Regions from separate parts of the Homo sapiens genome. Here all the other regions are linked to region 7. The links are contacts of gene promoters, found by promoter capture Hi-C in blood cells and fetal thymus (Javierre and others, 2016). All regions are on one chromosome and are shown on one strand. The core of a region is centred on a gene start or on the middle of the fragment in contact, and the rest is flanking DNA. Distances in the headings are between cores, read along the strand shown. Region 1 overlaps ANGPT1 (angiopoietin 1). Region 2 overlaps ANGPT1 (angiopoietin 1). Region 3 has its middle 220 kb from the start of ANGPT1. Region 4 overlaps ANGPT1 (angiopoietin 1). Region 5 overlaps ANGPT1 (angiopoietin 1). Region 6 has its middle 200 kb from the start of ANGPT1. Region 7 holds the start of ANGPT1 (angiopoietin 1).

Region 1 (2,700 bases), core at 70-2,569, 160 kb after region 7:
GAAGCTCAGTTTTCTCATTTGTAAAGTGATGATAACAATTTCTCCTTTGATAGGTGGTCATGATATCCGGAAAGGCTAGCATTACCTAGTGTGATAGGCGTTCTATAAATGTGTGATAATGAGTCTTTCTAAACTATGTCAAGAGAATTTTGCACATTTCTAATTGTTTTTTGCCAGGTGATCCACCAAGGCAGGTATCTTTTACATGCCTATTAGTTATTCTTAATTATTCACAATATCTAAGACCTTGTACTTAATACTAACGTGCACTTACAGATATTGGAGATAAAATATATGAAGCAACTAGCACAGGAGAATATCCTAGGGTTTTAGGACACAGAAGTCCTAAAACACAATATGTTTGTTCAATTGCAATTTCAATCTCAAACCAAAATAATATCTGAAAGGCATGTAAAACATTAGTTGGTAGAATATAAGTAGAATGTAAACCTTTTTTTTTTTTTTTTTTTTTTTTGAGACAGAGTCTTACTCTGTCGCCCAGGCTGGAGTGCAGTGGCGCGATCCCGGCTCACTGCAAGCTCCGCCTCCCGGGTTCACGCCATTCTCCTGCGTCAGCCTCCCGAGTAGCTGGGACTACAGGCGCCCGCTACCACGCCCGGCTAAGTTTTTGTATTTTTAGTAGAGACGGGGTTTCACCATGTTTGCCAGGATGGTCTCGATCTCTTGACCTCGTGATCCACCCGCCTTGGCCTCCCAAAGTGCTGGGATTACAGGCGTGAGCCACTGCGCCCGGCGGTAAACCATTTGTTAAATTATTCTTGAAAAAATATTTAACGACAAAATAAAACTTAAAAAAGTTCTTTGATTCGTGACTGAAGTTTGAAATATTTTCATCTTTTATCTTAAGGTACTAAATCAAACTTCTCGACTTGAGATACAGCTGCTGGAGAATTCATTATCCACCTACAAGCTAGAGAAGCAACTTCTTCAACAGACAAATGAAATCTTGAAGATCCATGAAAAAAACAGGTGAGGATTGCTTTATTCCAAAAATGTTTCTGTGTGTACTTATTTATATCCTTCACCTCTCTGCCAACTCTTAAACAAATAAGGTTGAGGTGGTTTACAAAAATGAAATATAGAGCCAAATTAATATTAATATAAAAATAAAGGAGAGCTTAAGGTAAATTCAGCTAGTATGTCAGGAATAAATTAATATTGTTGCTGATACTCTTGAAATATTTGCTTTATATAACTTTTAGCATTAATTTCTCTAATGGTAGTAGTTCAAATCTCACCATATCTACAAAAATTTGATTCTATGACTAAATAAAGTGACATAAAATATTGACATTTTTCAGCAGAATGAAAACCTATAACAACAGAGAATAGAGCCTCTTAAATTCCTACTCAAACCCCAATTCTTAGGCTTTTACAAAGCTACAGCGTTTTTGAATTCAGAAATATAGCACTAGAGAGAAGGAAAATGTATATTTTTTCTAGAAAATAATTTACCTATAAAGCTGATCAAGGGTTTGGTTTTTTAGTTGTCATTTACAGCCATTTACTTTGGACATAGTAAATTTCTTTGGTTAGCTTTATAGATGTCATCACACCATCTTGTTTTATAAATTATGAATCATTTCAGTTGATTGAATTGGAACTTAGACATCTTGAATGCTGGGACAATGAAAGAGTGTATTATTTTGAAGTCATTAACATTGATGATGAACAATTCAAAACACTGACTTCCTTAGGACAAGTTTCTTGCATTACATTGATTTTTCTTCGGGGTATCTAGATAACTTGAAGAAGGTTCAGTTCCTATGCATAATATTGAGGTGAAGACCATGGTATTGATAGAAACTGGTTAAATGCCATTGAATTGGTGGCACTAGAGTTCCCTTTATATTCCACACCAGGAAGGCACCTAAGAGGACTGCTAGTTCTGTTCTTTACAAGTGAGGGAACAGAGACTCAGTGGAAGGCAGTGACCTGTCCAAGGTCACACAACTTGCTAGTGGCCGAAATTGGAATGTAATTTAGGTGTCAGGATCTTTCCACTATAACACATGGCCTCTTCATATTATCTACAAACTAAAAGAATTTCCCAACTTCATGCTAAAAGTAGAGCATAATGCAACAATTACAATTAAACTTCTGCATGAAAAATACAAACCTGGCTGTTGGTTTAGAATCTGAAAGGGGTCACTCATGCTGTATGACTTGTATTTCTAAGTGTTACATTTATTTATCCTTGTACTGTGACATGGGGTTAGCTGTATAACTACAAATAAACTTGACAGGACTTGACCCTTATTGCATGATTAAATGTTCTAGAACTAACAATCCTGTTGAAATATACCATTTATTCTCCTGCAATTTCACAGTAACCAGACCTATACATGTATGTAATAGGTATGCTTCAACCACCCCTTAATCTAGGGTCACCCCTTTATGGTTTAATTTTGTCACCAAAAGTGAACCACATTTACAGTCATATTTCAAGATGCTATTTGTGAAGGCTTTGCCCAGGAATCATGGATAAGTAAAACGATGACAATTTTCCCTTATTTTTCTGAGTCGTCGTTTGGTTTTATAATTATACAATAGCACGTTTATTATAGCATAAGGACAAAAAAAAACACACAGGAAAATTAAAAACCACAGCTTTATCATACAGAAAGAGCTGCATATTTTGCTGCATTTTATATATAAATATCATTTTCACAAAAAGTT
Region 2 (2,700 bases), core at 52-2,551, 180 kb after region 7:
TTTAATCTTACTGTTAAGCGTTCTAACTAAATATTTAGTTACTTTTAGAACTCATAAGAGACACAAAAGTGGAAAGTGGCTCTCATAAGGTTTTTATGAAGATTTTCATTGTCTGCATATCTTTATTTTCACTGGAGCCTTAGTCGTTGGCTATGGTGAATTTAAAATTTTAAATGGCTAATAGCATAATACTAGATTGAATATCAGTTATTAAAATGAACTTTTATTCAAATTCTAAAACACATGGGTAAAGCCTTTCTTTGTTTTATGACCAAAATTTATATATCATATAAATTTATTATTTATTGAAGGATTATATGTAAATATTTTACTTATAAATTTATATATATGCAAATATTTCAAAATAAGCATACCAGAATAAACGCATCAAATATTCTAAAATGTACATTTTAAAGCTCAAATATAGGTATTCTACAAGATCTTAAAAAACACGAGCTGTGTCGTCATCCAAAAAGCCAAACATTTTAATTGACCCTAAAAGGTCTTCTGGTTTCAATCTGACCCACTAATCTGTGGAGACAGCCTGAATATAATACTGCAAGGCCAGACTAAAAAAATGTTAATGAGCTTCCCCTGTCATTGGCAACCAGTTTAACCTTAAGGAAGCTGTCTCATCATGTATAAAGTCAGGAGAATTCTGTCTATTTCACCACAATAGGGAAAGAATTACATTAGATGCTCAATATACAAGCGAAGATCCCATTGCTGAAGACACAGTTGATTCATTAAACTTTAGTTTCTTCTTTCTCCTTCGATGGACAAGATTCAGTTAAGTACATTCATTATGTGCTTTATAAGCAAAACTTCCTCTGCAGAAAATGTTTAAATACAATGCCCCGGAGTGTTTGAGTGTTGACAGTCATCCAGGCAGCTTTTTTGGCCTCCATTTTCTGATCTCTAAAATGGGATCATAATATCTACCCGGTAGGTATGTAGTACACCATAAATATATACAACTTTTGTCAATTATGTAGTTCAAAATTGCCAAAAAAGTGGATTGTAAATGTTCTGACCACAAAGAAATGACGAGTATGTGAGGTAATGGATATGTTAATTAGCTTGATCATTCTGCAGTGTATACATGTACCAAAACATCACGTTTTACTCCAAAAATATATACAGTTATTATTTGTCATTAAAAAATTCAAATTTAAAAAAGAAATAGAGGGCCTAGAATAAATACATACATAAACAAGTAAATGAATTAATTTCTTAAATGTTGAAATATTAAAAGAGGTTAGTATAAAACGCATAGCTTCTGTGTTAAGTCATAGTCAACATTAAAATAATCGTAATTATCTTTATTTTAGTGCCTTCTAAAATGCCTATAATGCATTAAAGTTATATGATAAAGAATTCCTAGGAAGTGTTGGCTAGACATGTACTTTTTTTCCCAAACATTTGTTTGATCCAGAAACTGTAAATCTATCTTTGCATTCAGAGAGTGCTTTTGTTTAGTTTCACAGCACTTTTTCTACTAACACATCTGATGTTGTGAGATACTTTTAAGAAGGACAACTAATAAACACATTATCTGAAATAATTCACCAAACTTTCCTCTTCTTATTCCTAATAGACAATAATGGTGTCTTAGGCAAATAGTCAATTCAAACTGAATTGCATCCACTTTGTAAGGCTTCTGAGTAACACATTTATTTTTGCCTAACCTTCATCTGCAAACATTGGGCCACATTTATTCTTAGAAACATTATCCACTAAAGAAATATTGCCCTCAGTGTTATCACAATGTCAAAGCTCAGCCTATTGCTTCATGTTTTTGGCAATTCAAAATTACCAAAATTAAATATTTGCTGGAATTAAGTAATTTACATTAATAAGGCATACAAACAAGGTTTGGAATCTTTCAGGGGAGAGTAATCAGTTACTGTGACTATTAAAAAACCACTAGTTGGCCAGGCGCGGTGGCTCATGCCTGTAATCCCAGAACTTTGGGAGGCCAAAGTGGGTGGATCACTTGAGGTCAGAAGTTCAAGACCAGCTTGGCCAATATGGTGAAACCCCATCTCTACTAAAAATACAGAAATTAGCTGGGCATGGTGGCACATGCCTGTAATCCCAGCTACTCAGGAGGCTGAGGCAGGAGAATTGCTTGAACCCAGGAGGCGAAGGTTGCAGTGAGCTGAGATCACGCCACTGCACTCCAGCCTGGGCAACAGAGTAAGACTCTGTCTCAAAAAAAAAAAAAATAAAAATAAAAATAAATTCACTGGTTATCTATGTACACTGGTGATTAAAATGTCATCTCATGTTGAGCATACACGTGGCAAATATATAATTGGGAATTTAATTACTAACAGCATGTAAAAAAAGGAAGGAAGGAAAAAAGAAAAGAAAAAGTTTTTAAAAAAAGTATTTAGACTGTATTATAAACTTACATAGTCTGATTGTCTCACACTGCTCAAATCAGCTCGAAGCTCATTTCTGCTGTAGCAGGATGTGGTTCATAAATTTATCCATTCATTCAAAACAGTTCTGCAGCAACTGTTCTGTTCTGGGGAAATGATATTTATTCATTTTTATTTAACAAATATTTGGTAAGTTTCTATAATGTGCCAAATATTGCTCAGACTACTGGGAAGAAGAAAAGATGTATTTCATTCTGTGGCTTTAAGGAACCTAGGGTTTGATAGGAGAGAAAAAAGTAAACAATTATTTTTC
Region 3 (2,716 bases), core at 64-2,563, 220 kb before region 7:
GGATTACAGGCATGAGCCACCGCGCCTAGTCAGTATTAACTCTTATATTTAGATTTCTAATCCACTTTGAGTTACTCTTTGTAAATGGAAAGAGGTTATTGGTGTCACATACTACACTGGTTTTACTGCTGTAGCTTTATAAGTCTTCATTTCAGTTAGTATAAATTCAACTTTTCCTTTTTAAAGTTATTTTAGCTTTCAAGGTCCTCTGCATTTCCATATAAATTTTAAAATTAAATTGTCATTTTTTACAAACAAGCTTGCTTAGCTTTTGATTAGGATTTCAGTGAAGCACAATCTAGGAAGAATTCACATGTTGACAATATTGAGTCTTCAAATAAAAATGGTATATTATTTTCACTTGTCTTTTTAAATTTCTCTCAGAAATATTTTTTGCTTTTTAGTGTACAGTTTTTGCACATCTTTCACCAAATTTATGTCTAAATAGTATATTTTTGATGCTATTATAAATGATGTTTTTAAAAAATTCAGTTTCAGATTCATTATTGCTTATATATAGACTCAGCTGAAATTTTTATAATGACTTTATATCCTACAACCTTGCTAAACTCATTATTAGTTCCAAAGACTTTCTTCTTCATAGAGTACTTAGAATTTTATACATTAGACTTTCCTTTTTTTCTTTTCTTTTTTTTTCTTTTTTTGAGATGGAGTCTTGCTTTGTCGCCCAGGCTGGAGTACAGTGGCATGATCTCCGCTCACTGCAAGCTCCGCCTCCTGGGTTCACGTCATTCTCCTGCCTCAGCCTCCTGAGTAGCTGGGACTACAGGCGCCTGCCACCACACCCGGCTAATTTTTTTTTTGTATTTTTAGTAGAGATAGATTTTCTTTACTATTCTAGCTTGCTGAGAGTTTTAATCATGAATGAATGTTGGCTATTATAAAATATTTTTTCTGCATGTATTAAGAATGATTTTATGGCTTTTCATTTTTTAGTAGTTTAATACTGTAAATTCTATTGATTGACTTTTGAAGATATTAATATAAATATTTTAATGTATTAATATTAATATAATTTGCATCGTGGGACAAATCTCACTTGGTCATGATATATTACTCTTCCATATATTGTTGGATTTAAATATTAGAAATACTGTTAAGGAGTTTTGTGTCTATATTTATGAGCAATATTCGTCTGTAGATTTTCTTGCTGTTCTAATATCTTTTTCTCATTTTGGTATCAGGGTAAAGCTGGCTTTTGCACTATTGTTATATATTTTACTTCTCTCTGTAGATAATAAATCCCAAAATTCATTGCAATATTTTTGCTTTAAACAGTCAAGTATCTTTTAATAAAATTTGAAAGACAATTATTTTATAACTATTATTTCTGGTGTCTTTAATTGCTTTGTAAAGATCCAGACTTTGACCTGATATCATTTTCTTTCATCATAAACCACTTCAATTAACCTTTTTTGTATTAAATGTCTGCTGGTAATGAGTCCCTTCAGCTTTAGAATATCTGGAAAATATTTTTTTTCTACTTTTTTTTTTTTTTTTGAGATGGAGTTTCACTCTTGTTGCCCAGGCTGGACTGCAATGGCGTGATCTTGACAAACTACAAACTCTGCCTCCTGAGATCAAGTGATTCTCCTGCCTCAGCCTCCCGAGTAGCTGGGATTACAGGTGCCCTCTACCATGCCTGGCTATTTTTTTTTCTATATCTTTAAAAGAGATATTTGACTGGCGATAAAATTTTAGTTTGGCAATATTTTTATTTTCTGTAGAGATGTCCCACTGTCTTTGGGCTTATATTGTATCTGAAGAGATGTCTCTTATTATTCTTCTTTGCTCTTCTGTTTGAAATGTGTTATTTTACTCTGGAGGCTTTTAAGAAGATATTCTCTTTATCACTAGTTTATAATGTGACTTTTTTTTCTGTGTTTTAATTTAGATAATTTTTAATACTATGTCTTCAATTAATCTGTTGTTATACAGTGTCTAATTTACAGTTAATTTCAAGTACATTTTTAAATCTCAAACATTGTATTCTCTAACTCTAAAATTTTATTTTTGATCTCTCTTATATCTACTATGCCCTTAAAATAATCATATTTTGTTCTATCTTCTGAAACATGAGGAAAAGAGTTATAAAACTGCATTGATACCTTTGTATATTAATCATCTGCCAATTCTAGGTTGGTCTTACCTGATTACATTTTTTTCTCTATTCATTAACTTTAGATTTTGCCTCCCTGTGTGCCTGATAATTACCTATTGGATGCCAGGCATTGTAAATTTTACTTTGCTGATTGCTCACATTCTTTAATGTGTTAGTGAACTTTGCTCATGAATGTAGGTATGTTGGAAATGTTTGACTCTTTTGAGTCCTGCTTTCAAGCTTTATTATACAGCAGTAGAACAACTAGTTTAGAGCTAATTTTTCCTGCCACCGAGATGATAATCTTCATAGTATTCTGCCTGATATCCCACGTGCTGCAAGATTTTTCTACTTTAGCTAGTGGAGACATGAACTATTCCCATCCTTCTTTGAGCTCCAGGGATTATTCTGCCTCTTCCATTTGGTACTTTCCCTTCCCTCATGGTCTCTGACAGTTTTCTCCAAGTAAACACTTACCTGTGCTCAGCAGAATATTCAGAGTACCAAGAGCTTTCTTTCTTCTTTTTTTTTCTCCTTCCAGTTCCTTCTTCTCTATAAGGTATTCTGCTCAACAAACTCTAGCTATATGGCAAC
Region 4 (2,700 bases), core at 70-2,569, 240 kb after region 7:
ATGTGTTTTTGTAATAAACGCCATTACCTTATCAAATGTCCCTTTGAAAGAATCCAGGTCTTGCAAAGCTATTTATTATGGAAAGCTAAAATGTGGAATTTAGATAGCTAAGAACTGGAGAACATAAGGATGAATGTCATTGACAGTCCAGGTAACTGGAGTATTGCCTGGAACTTAGGTCCTACTTAGTTACTCCCCACCACTACTACTTATTCTCTGTCAAAATTTCCCTTAGAGCCATTTTCCTCATCTAATGATTTTTCCTTTCCTTTTTTTTCTTTTTAAACTTAGTATTTGAGCCTGTTGCCTATTTAAAATACCCTCTCTTAAGCAGTGAGACTTCATACTCTTTGGAGCTAGTAACTCATAGCTCTTTGTCATCATCAATTAAAGCTTTGTTTTATCTTGTTTATTTATATATTTTTCCTTTGTTTCTTCTAAAAGGGATTAAGAGTAAAATAAGATTTATTGCCCACTAACTATCCTAGTTTTCTTCAAGTACATAGAGGAATTCTAGCTGGAGAATCTGGTATCATTACCCTTATCGGTAAAAGACTGAATGGCAGGAAATAGGCTTAACTGAAAGCAGAAGGTATTTCAGCTAGACCCAAGGTAGGACTTGATCTTTGTTCTTCATTTCCTAACTTCCTTATTTCTTGGCTTTCTTCTATCAGTTTAAGGGGGTTAATTACTATTAAACAAATGAGCAAGACAGGCTAGAGCATAAGTTTCATTAAAAATTTAAAAGAAATAGTTTTATCTACTATTTAACATTAAGAAAATGAAAATGAAATCTCATTCAATGCATACTTTTTGTATAGATTTATTGTATATGGAGATAAATATGTGAAAAATTCTGATTCCAAAATTAAGACAGTGACAAATTTTTGTTACTAGATTGTCACATTCAAAACAAACTTACCTTCAGCTAAAAAAAAATCTTTGATACTAAATTAGGAGTTTTCAAAGTCTGCATTTCTGAAAGTTTGCTTAAGCTACAGTTAACTAAAATTATTAATGTTATAATTAAAGAATTATTTCTAAAAATCTTTCATAAACTGTAATTATTAAAGGTTGCCAACAACAAAAACAAATATGTTACCGTTTTACATTCCTTACTTTAGTTTCAGTATAATTTCCATATTTAGTACATAATATAAAGGCTATGTAAAAATGTGACCTAACTTTCTGTAGAAAGAATCTATTGAAGTAGAAACTCTCATTTCTTTTCCCAATGCATAAACCATGTCAACTGGTAGACAAGACTTTCTAAAGCTAACGAAGGATATTTTTCAGTTCAGTCCTTAAATAGGGGATAAAGCCATACACGTAAATTTCTTAGTACATCTAGAACTTTCCAGATGCTAACAGCAGACAGTTGACAAACGCTCACTTTGCCTACTATATAATCTTAAAGAAGACAAAGAAAATGATAGAAGCTAGCAGTTTTTTCAACTGGTGTATGACCTTGAAGTGACAAGATCTTTGGGAAAATATAATTGTCTTAGCATTTTTGGGAACCCAAGAAAGACCTGCTAAGCATGATCAGATAACTAAAATTCTCTGTTTCAAGGTAAAAATATTGAGAGAAAAGAAGATCCATATGACTAATGTAAGATTGACTATAGAAATCTACATTGCACTACTTTTATTTCAACCCAATTTCTATATTTAGTACATAAAACGTAAGCCTATTCTACACAAATGTAAGTTCTGTGAATGCAGGGATTTTATGCTGTCCACTACTGTATCCCCAGTGGCTGCCATAGTGTGTGGCAGATAGCATATGTTCAATAAATATTGGTTTAGTGAGTAAATGTTAGCAGAGACTCTGAAAGGACATTGCAAAATTACAAATTATTCTGGTGAAAATACATAAATGAATGTTAGTATAAACGTGATTCTTGCATGAACTTATATTTAAAATGCCTAATACATACATGTATTTATATGCACCAGCATGGAACAAAGAGATGACTATCAAAGACTGAAACTAACTTAAGAATAACCAAACCCCAAAAGACTGAACTGCAGAATTATAAAAATTTGAGTGTTAGGTTCCTGACTGTCAAATAAATTTGAGCTTCCTAAAATGCAAAGTTTAAGATTACATTCCTATTTTCTCGGGCAAAGTTTCATTTCTTAGAAAAAGAGCAAAGAGTATCAGAAAATGTCTTTTATAAGTTTGGAAAAAGGTGAATCAGAACCGATAGTCCTCTCGTGCAAGGCTACAACCAAAGCTTAATAATTGACAGTGGATGAGAAATAACCAATTAATTTTGTATTGTACTCAGTAATAATATTTAAAAACTTATTGAGCTCTTTCTAATGGATACGTTTATATTATTCTAAATGATTTATATTTAATAACATATATGAAGCTTCCAAAAACTCTTGGAAATACAGACTACAATAATACTTTTGGCAAGAACTGAGATACAGAAAAGTTAGATAATTTGCCATAGGTCACAGAATTTTGTCAGAAGTAGAATTTAAATGCAGGTACTCAACCTCCAGAGGCCTTTGTTCTATCTACTCTTTCTACTGCCTCCATTAAAAGGGATGACATTCAAAGAGAATGACAGAGCTCTATTGTACCGTTTGCAGCATCTTTTTGCAAGCATTTCCTCATTTAAACATGGTTAAAAGCAAAATGAAGTATGAGGGAGAAGAGAGGAGGTAAAAGAATACCTAGAAGTT
Region 5 (2,700 bases), core at 149-2,648, 200 kb after region 7:
TAGGAACATGAATATAGAGCAAACAGTTTCTAGTGTAATGATGAAGATAGACAATTATGCAGATAGTTATAAAATGCTGTCAATAAGTATAGTGATAGAAATGGTCTGTGTAAAGCAGGGTATATGGGAAGTTTTGAGGTGAGACAGCTGAAGAGAGTGAGATTAGGCAAGAACCTTGCTCTTCAGTGTCTGTGAGTTTTAACTGGAAGCCCAGGGTCCCAAGAGGACCGCATGCCCTTACAGGATAAAACAACTGTCCTCCCCTCATGCCCCCACCTAAATTACTTGTCTCTTATCCCCATTTCCTCTGGGGCCTGTGCAATGCTCTTGGAATCTTCTCTGATTCCCTCAGGCAACTTTACATGACTTTCTCACTACCAGAGTTCTAAAAGGCAGAGATTGTGCCTTTTATCTTTGATTTCCTGGAACCTAGCATAGTTTCTGGCACATAGTAGGTCTCAATAGATATGTGCTGGAATAAATGAGTAAGTGACCTGCTGATGGCAATATCAACACTTCCATGCAGTGCATAGTAAATCAGTCTAACTTACTTAGTCTTCCTGATTGTTAGTCTCCTTTGATAGGCAAAGGAAATGAATCCTGGAGCCCAGTTTGCCAGATGCCACTTAATTGGCAACCCAGGAAGTCTGGACTATAGTCCAGGTCTGATACAATTCTATTTTCCCTTTTACCACTGTCCTCTGTCTCTCTTGATTTCCGTAATGAATAGTTGTTTATGTTAGCTCTAAATGGTTTCTTTTTCCCCTTTGCTGGGACAAAATTTTCTTCTTGAAAGATACCTTTGATGTTGTCTATAAGGGGGTAAAATGTAGGAGTGGAGTGGGCACAGGAGGGAGGACAGGCAGGAGGCACTCTTCTGTACTTTGCTACCTCAGCCATCTACCAGAGAAGTGTGGTTTTGCTGTTTTTCATGTTTGATTTCTGTGCAAGATTACATTGAATCCCATGGCTTAAAGAAGCAAACAAATGAAAAATTGAAATACAATGGCAAGTCTGGGAATGAGGAGATGAAGATAACTTATTCTAAGGAAGATATCCTAAAATCACACTTAAGCTTAAATTCAATTCACACACACACACACATCATAAACACACACCATACACACAGCAGATGAAGTATGTGAGAATTTGATCTGGAGTAGGAGGTGGAGTTAAAACATTTGCTTTATCATTTACCTACAGTACTACTCAAGACCTGAAAGAACCTCTAAATTATTGTCAGTTCCACTAGAGCTTATAATCTGACTATAAAAATAAAATTAACTAAAAATACTAAGCGAACTTCCATTTAGACTCATAGTGATTCTGTGATATAAATGAATCGAAAAATAATTCCCAAAGTTTTCAGATCAAGAATATTCACAATTTTAGAATTTTTTTGACTTCATCATCAGTACTACCATGTGGTCTGTGGGAAGGGGTGCAGTACAAATACAGCTTTAGTCATTCTATGGACTTTAGTTCATATATAACCACAACTACACTCTAGTTTGAAACATTATGAGATGCAAATGGTGCACAGGCTATTTGCAGAACCACTGCGCCTGGTAATGTGAAGAAAAAGATCCCACCTCAATTCATAATCCTGAATAGGTTTGCTTTTCATGCTTACATAAAATAGAATGTTGGAGAATCCAATTTACTCCTTCCATGGCTGGCTCCTGGGTTGGTTTCATCAGGAAAGCAAGATTCAAGCTTACGCTTCTACAAAATGGTGGATTTTAAATATGATGGAGTTTTTGGGTTTTCTTAAATAAATAAAACTTAGAATATTATATTCACAAATGTCAAGTACCTACTGAATTAACTTCTGATATTTAGGCTAAGAAAAAATAATAATCTGAACAGGTTAGCAGTAACATACCCATACGTACCCATAAGGAGCAAATTTTATCACTGCTGAATGGCCACCATGGCTTTTCAGAGAGAAGAAGGAGAAGTTCCAATATTACCTGGTCAGGACTATTGTTAGATTTAGATTTAGTTTTATTGAAATACTAGCAGAGTGTGGTGAGAAGGGGAGATAACTGAGCTGAAGAGAGAAAGACCTGGCCTTCTTCTGGACTTAGATGTTCATTCTCTTGTTTTATTATTTCCCTATTATAATCATAGATTCTCTTACAAGTAGTAACATTGTTCTATAATAAAGATGGGTATTTCAGACTGACATACATACACATTTTTGCAGGTAAAAAATTTAGTGTTTAATCCCTTAGTATAATTGCATAGCATAGCACTGGTAAGAACAAATATTGTGTGAATTTCCTCAAAAGTAATTTACAAGCTGATTAACAAAATAGCTCAAATGTATTGAGCATTTACAGTTTGCCAGTCTTCTTCTAAGCATATATATCTCTATATATAGATAGATATAGATCTCTATATATAGATGTATACTATACTATACTATATATATACTATATATAGATATATAGAGATATATATAGATCTCTATAGATATAGATACCTATATCTAGATATAACTATATATATAGTTATATCTAGATATAACTACATATCTAGATATCTAGATATATAGTTATATCTAGATATCTAGATATAACTAGTATATAGTATATATACAGTATATCTAGATATAACTACATATCTAGATATATAGTATATCTAGATATAACTACATATCTAGATATATAGTATATCTAGATATAACTACATATC
Region 6 (2,700 bases), core at 55-2,554, 200 kb before region 7:
GCCAAGGAATATTCAACTGTCAAAAGTCATTTTTAAAGTAAAATATTTAGTGAGATGGGCAATATTTATGATATAAACTTAAGTGAAAGGTGAATAGAGAATGTACATAATACAATCCCAACTTCTAAAAACTGAAGAGAAAGATTAAAATTTTAACAATTATGATTTTGAGGTTATAGGAAGAAGAGTGTTTTTCTTTTCTCATTTATACTGTACCTCACTCGCAATAGCATGTAGTGGTTAAGCATATAGGCTTAGAGTTATGTCTTAGTTCTACCACTCACTTGGATGAGTTAAATAACCTCTCCTGAGTGTCTTTTCTTGCATGTAAAATGGAAAAAATAATATTTACCTTATAAGATTCTTGTGATGCCTCAACGAGATACACATAGTAATTCTTAGTACTGTGCCTTCCAAATGGTATGTGCACAATAAATGGTAGCTATTAGTATTATGCATTTTATTAAAACATCTGCAAAATAAAGATGCACTACTTTAAAGGATACCCAAATACAAAGGATAGTTTTAAATATATGTGCTATCTACACAATAAAATTACCTACTTTAATTCAAGAAAATTACATATATTTTTAAATTATTCTAGGCCAATTTTATAAAACTACTATATCAATGTTTATACTATTTTAGAAGCATATATGTTTGTGTATATGTGTGTTTCTTATCACTAGATATTACAGAAAGTTAAATTACTGTCTAGAAATTTCAATTTTTCATTATGATATTGAAAAGTCATTTCTATAAAATTAAAAGAGTAGTATTCACACCTGTAGGTATAAAGATCTTCTCAGATTTCCCAAACTTTAGAAACTATTCATTTAGATGTTAAAAACAAATTACCTGTGTCCTGCATAAATTACAAATAATTCATGAACCCCACAATGAAATATTTATGGTCTCATTGAATACTTCCCAGGATAATAAAATAAAGACTATGTTCTGTTTATGTGCCTGAATGGCCAGAATTTTATTTTCTGTTTTAGTTGATAATTCATAAAAAGAAATTTAGGGGACTGAACTGTAGCTTTCAAACTCGAAAACTAGAACATTTAGAAAGTTTATTATTTTTATAGAAGACTTAGTTATTGGCCATCCAGAGTAGATTGGCCCATGTGTGGCTAAGGAATAAGATATAAAATTTAAGATCTCCTCTTTTTTTTTTTTTTTTTAACTCTTTTGCTTTGTTGACAATAGAACACAGCCTCACAGAATTAATACGAGAAGTGACCTTTCACCCATCATCCATCTGTTGATCCATTTATTCATTCTTTCTCTATGTATTAGTAGAGTACCCATAATGTGACATGCGCTTTACTAATGTGACACGCCTCTTTAAAATACAAAGGTGAACCAGAAAGGCAAAGTCTCTGACCTTGGAGAATTTACAGTCTACCAGAAGAACCATGCAATAAACAGACAAAATAAACAGTAAATGCTATAAAAGAAATTAGCAGGATGATGTCAAAAAGAGTAATTATTTGTTGGGTGGTGGCGAAGATGAGAAATACTTCAGGTAGGTTTGTCTGGGAAGTTTCCCTGAATTGTGCCTTGAGAGAGGAGACAGAGCCAGGCAGGAAGAGATGGGGGAAGAAACTTCCAAACCCAGAAAACCACAGGGCTTGGAGAACAACTGTGACATAATTTTAAGTGAAACAGCAATGCTAAATTGAATTTATTAATGCAGTAGGACACGGACAAAAGAAATGAATTGGATTGATATGTGTCAACATGGATAAAGCTCAAAGACATAGTGAAGAGAAAAAGCAAGCTGTATCATGTTCCTCATGGTATCATTTATGGAACTTTTAAAAACACAAAGCAATGGTACATATTTGTTATATGCATATACATATATAATAAAGTATAAAACCATATATGATAATGATATATAACAGTTTTAGGGCTTTGCTTACTTCTGGAGAGAAAGGGAAGGAATGGAATGTGGAACTTTATAATGTTTGTTTTTTTAAAGAAATATGAAGCAAAATCCTAAAGTCAAGGGATGATTACCTAAGTGTCTCACTTTTTACAATTTTCTGTGTATTAGAAAAGTTGAAAGACTAGAAACTTCAATAAAACAGAATACAAATTGTATAAGGCTAATACTAAAACTAAATTCAAAAGCAGAGAGTATGATCTGATATTTAAAAACTGGAAATAAATTCTATGTGGTGGAATTATGAGTAATTTTTGTTTCTATTCTTTGTTCCAAATAGCAATATACTACATGGATCAAGAATGTAGGAAAAGTAGTCAACCAAGAGAAAAGCAAGTGGCTATGTTGTGGAGGAAGAATGGATAAGATGTAGCCATTCTGACTTTTTGGTTATCAGTACAATACCTTCTAGTATGTTCCACAACCTATTTTTTTAAATGTTTGCTTATTGTTGTTTTTAAAACAACTTTACTGATACAATTGATATAAAATAAATTTACAGTATATAACTTGCTGTTTTGAAGTATGTCTATTCCCATGTAATAGTCACCACAATCACCTCATGAACATATACATCAGCCTCAAAAGTTTTCTTATGTTCATTGGTGCCTATTCTCTCCTATATCCTCACCCCTCTACCTACACCACTGATCACTTTGTAGGCTTTAATATAAATGGAATCAGAGCATATGTAGTTTTTTTGGTCTTCTTTCACTCAGCATAATTGAGATTCATCCATGTTATTA
Region 7 (2,724 bases), core at 220-2,719:
TTCAAGAGGCTGCAAAAGTGGTTCAAATATTTTATTGCTGTGTTTGGCATAACTTGCTTCCATATCTGTCCAATCAGAAATTTGTTATTTGGTGTGGAAAGGACTGATGAATCTCGGCAAGGTTTCTTTCCCCAAGTAAATCGCATTTGTTCTGGAATTTGTTTTGACCTCTCCTCTAACTTCTCCCTAAATGCCCATCTCTAACCACTACGGACCTTCACCCACTGCCCTGTTCTCCTTCCAAGACATGGGAGATGACAGCTGTGGCTTCTGTTTTCACACCATGACTGCAGTTGTCTAAAAGCCCTCCCAGTTCCTAATGAAAATCCCAACTCATAATTCAGGTTTTCTGCATCTAGTAAAGATCTCAAAGCCGTTCCCTAAATTCTACAATTATTGCCTGTTTATGTTTATGGGTCCCTTTGTTCAAATGTTTATACGCTGCCTGTGGGAAATCATCTTCTGATAATTTTTCTTTCTTCCTTCACAGAAGCACAGAGATGTCTCCTGTACAGCCCATTGCTGGCTGTTAGCACACCTGATATATGCTTGTTCTCACATAGTATGTCTGTGCAGCCACAGGAGGTTTTTATGTGGAACTTCCACACCAGTGTTAAAGACAGCCATAGCCACCAAAGAGATCCTTGTAAAATACAGGATTAGGATATACCACAGGAATTAATAATTCTCAAGCCACTGCTTTAAATTGTAGCCACATTGTTTTTGTAGGGAAGTTGCTCAATTTATATACACAGAACATGAAGGGTTGCATTCTGATCAGGACACCAGTTTCATTTAAGAACCCTATACCAAAAGGTACTTAGATAACCCTCTTTAATATGCACATACTATATTGCTTTGTGCAACATATTGCTTTGAGCAACAAATGATGCTAATTTTCTTGCTAATTTGATCCTCTCTGATTATTTTCTTCAACTCCTAAAAGTCTAAGTGAATACAATGAAAGAATACCATCTGTAAAAACTGTTTTTTAACATATTTTTCCTCAGAGTCAAGAATACATGTTTTTTAAAGACATTTAATAATGATATGGGTTTATCATTCTCTATCAAAAATAATTCCATTGGACATTATGCCAATTTTCTTCTTAGGGTCCCTCGACTAAATAGTAACTTTAAAAACATACTGCTAGTTTGCTATATTTTAGTAGGTCAGCATGCACACCAAAAGTGTATTAAGGTGGACTGCTCTATTTATTGATTTGCCATGAATCTGCTAAAGGCTCAAGGCAATTGTCTGTGGAAAGGGGCGGGAGGGCCATACATGATCGAGGTCATGCGCATCTAGCCAATTTGTAAGACGATCCCGCCGCCCTAAGCCATCAGCAATCCTTAGTATAGGGGCACACTCATGCATTCCTGTCAAGTCATCTTGTGAAAGGCTGCCTGCTTCCAGCTTGGCTTGGATGTGCAACCTTAATAAAACTCACTGAGGTCTGGGAGAAAATAGCAGATCTGCAGCAGATAGGGTAGAGGAAAGGGTCTAGAATATGTACACGCAGCTGACTCAGGCAGGCTCCATGCTGAACGGTCACACAGAGAGGAAACAATAAATCTCAGCTACTATGCAATAAATATCTCAAGTTTTAACGAAGAAAAACATCATTGCAGTGAAATAAAAAATTTTAAAATTTTAGAACAAAGCTAACAAATGGCTAGTTTTCTATGATTCTTCTTCAAACGCTTTCTTTGAGGGGGAAAGAGTCAAACAAACAAGCAGTTTTACCTGAAATAAAGAACTAGTTTTAGAGGTCAGAAGAAAGGAGCAAGTTTTGCGAGAGGCACGGAAGGAGTGTGCTGGCAGTACAATGACAGTTTTCCTTTCCTTTGCTTTCCTCGCTGCCATTCTGACTCACATAGGGTGCAGCAATCAGCGCCGAAGTCCAGAAAACAGTGGGAGAAGATATAACCGGATTCAACATGGGCAATGTGCCTACACTTTCATTCTTCCAGAACACGATGGCAACTGTCGTGAGAGTACGACAGACCAGTACAACACAAACGCTCTGCAGAGAGATGCTCCACACGTGGAACCGGATTTCTCTTCCCAGAAACTTCAACATCTGGAACATGTGATGGAAAATTATACTCAGTGGCTGCAAAAAGTAAGTGATTGCTTTCAGTTTCTAATAGCACGGACCTTTTTCCTTTCTTGCACTGCAGCTAACTTAAAGTTCCTTAGGGGAGCATTTGTGTATTTACCTTTTGCTCCAGGGGGGCAGTGTTTGCAATTGCAAGACGGCTGTCTGGGTTTGGCTTCCTGGGTAAGCCAAGGTTTGGGGGCTTGCCCAAACCTATGAATGTGTGGGGGCACCCCGTTTGTGTGTCTAGCCCTGGCAAATTTTATGACATTTTTGGTTTCTCTTTTCTAAAGTTCAGCATTAAGGTTCTCTCTGTCAAAACACTACCTTAAGAAAGAAAGTATGTACCTCTTAAGCAAGTTGGTGAAAAATAAATAATAATGACAATATTAATTAATAAGATCAAATCGATTTTGCACCAGAAAATTTTGTGCCGCTGGGGTGGCAAATCATCACAAAGTATTTGTTTTTTTAACCTTTATAAAAATTAACATGAAGTGAGAGTAAATATAAAATATGATATTTGGTTGGAGAAATTGTATATTTATGTAAAGGGAACTGTTAGTTTCAGCAAGTGGTAGAATAGTAGACTGATTTCTGTTAAATATTTTTTTCTTCTGTCC

Evidence for each region. The method cuts DNA at HindIII sites, captures the fragments that hold promoters and counts their contacts. A CHiCAGO score of 5 or more calls a contact.
Region 1: a contact is called between a fragment that was not itself captured here and the fragment with the promoter of ANGPT1 in region 7, in 1 of 17 cell types (megakaryocytes). The highest score is 12.5, in megakaryocytes.
Region 2: a contact is called between a fragment that was not itself captured here and the fragment with the promoter of ANGPT1 in region 7, in 1 of 17 cell types (megakaryocytes). The highest score is 15.2, in megakaryocytes.
Region 3: a contact is called between a fragment that was not itself captured here and the fragment with the promoter of ANGPT1 in region 7, in 1 of 17 cell types (neutrophils). The highest score is 5.1, in neutrophils.
Region 4: a contact is called between a fragment that was not itself captured here and the fragment with the promoter of ANGPT1 in region 7, in 1 of 17 cell types (megakaryocytes). The highest score is 9.6, in megakaryocytes.
Region 5: a contact is called between a fragment that was not itself captured here and the fragment with the promoter of ANGPT1 in region 7, in 1 of 17 cell types (megakaryocytes). The highest score is 18.8, in megakaryocytes.
Region 6: a contact is called between a fragment that was not itself captured here and the fragment with the promoter of ANGPT1 in region 7, in 1 of 17 cell types (neutrophils). The highest score is 7.8, in neutrophils.

The regions. Positions count from the first base shown.
Region 1 is chr8:107,334,440-107,337,139 of GRCh38, reverse strand. It overlaps ANGPT1 (angiopoietin 1), which reads left to right. Exons shown (of 9, transcript NM_001146.5): 3 at 869-990. Among named protein-coding and RNA genes, the nearest start is that of ANGPT1, 160 kb to the left of the region's middle. The HindIII fragment of the contact is 6,095 bases long and covers 1-2,700 here.
Region 2 is chr8:107,317,163-107,319,862 of GRCh38, reverse strand. All of the region lies in intron 4 of ANGPT1 (angiopoietin 1), which reads left to right. Among named protein-coding and RNA genes, the nearest start is that of ANGPT1, 180 kb to the left of the region's middle. The HindIII fragment of the contact is 3,419 bases long and covers 1-2,700 here.
Region 3 is chr8:107,718,602-107,721,317 of GRCh38, reverse strand. No RefSeq gene overlaps it. Among named protein-coding and RNA genes, the nearest start is that of ANGPT1, 220 kb to the right of the region's middle. The HindIII fragment of the contact is 2,103 bases long and covers 262-2,364 here.
Region 4 is chr8:107,258,057-107,260,756 of GRCh38, reverse strand. All of the region lies in intron 8 of ANGPT1 (angiopoietin 1), which reads left to right. Among named protein-coding and RNA genes, the nearest start is that of ANGPT1, 240 kb to the left of the region's middle. The HindIII fragment of the contact is 1,847 bases long and covers 396-2,242 here.
Region 5 is chr8:107,299,857-107,302,556 of GRCh38, reverse strand. The region is part of intron 5 of ANGPT1 (angiopoietin 1); the gene reads left to right. Among named protein-coding and RNA genes, the nearest start is that of ANGPT1, 200 kb to the left of the region's middle. The HindIII fragment of the contact is 641 bases long and covers 1,078-1,718 here.
Region 6 is chr8:107,698,989-107,701,688 of GRCh38, reverse strand. No RefSeq gene overlaps it. Among named protein-coding and RNA genes, the nearest start is that of ANGPT1, 200 kb to the right of the region's middle. The HindIII fragment of the contact is 7,386 bases long and covers 1-2,700 here.
Region 7 is chr8:107,496,663-107,499,386 of GRCh38, reverse strand. It overlaps ANGPT1 (angiopoietin 1), which reads left to right and starts at 1,469. Exons shown (of 9, transcript NM_001146.5): 1 at 1,469-2,125. The coding sequence starts at 1,829. The HindIII fragment of the contact is 4,855 bases long and covers 1-2,724 here.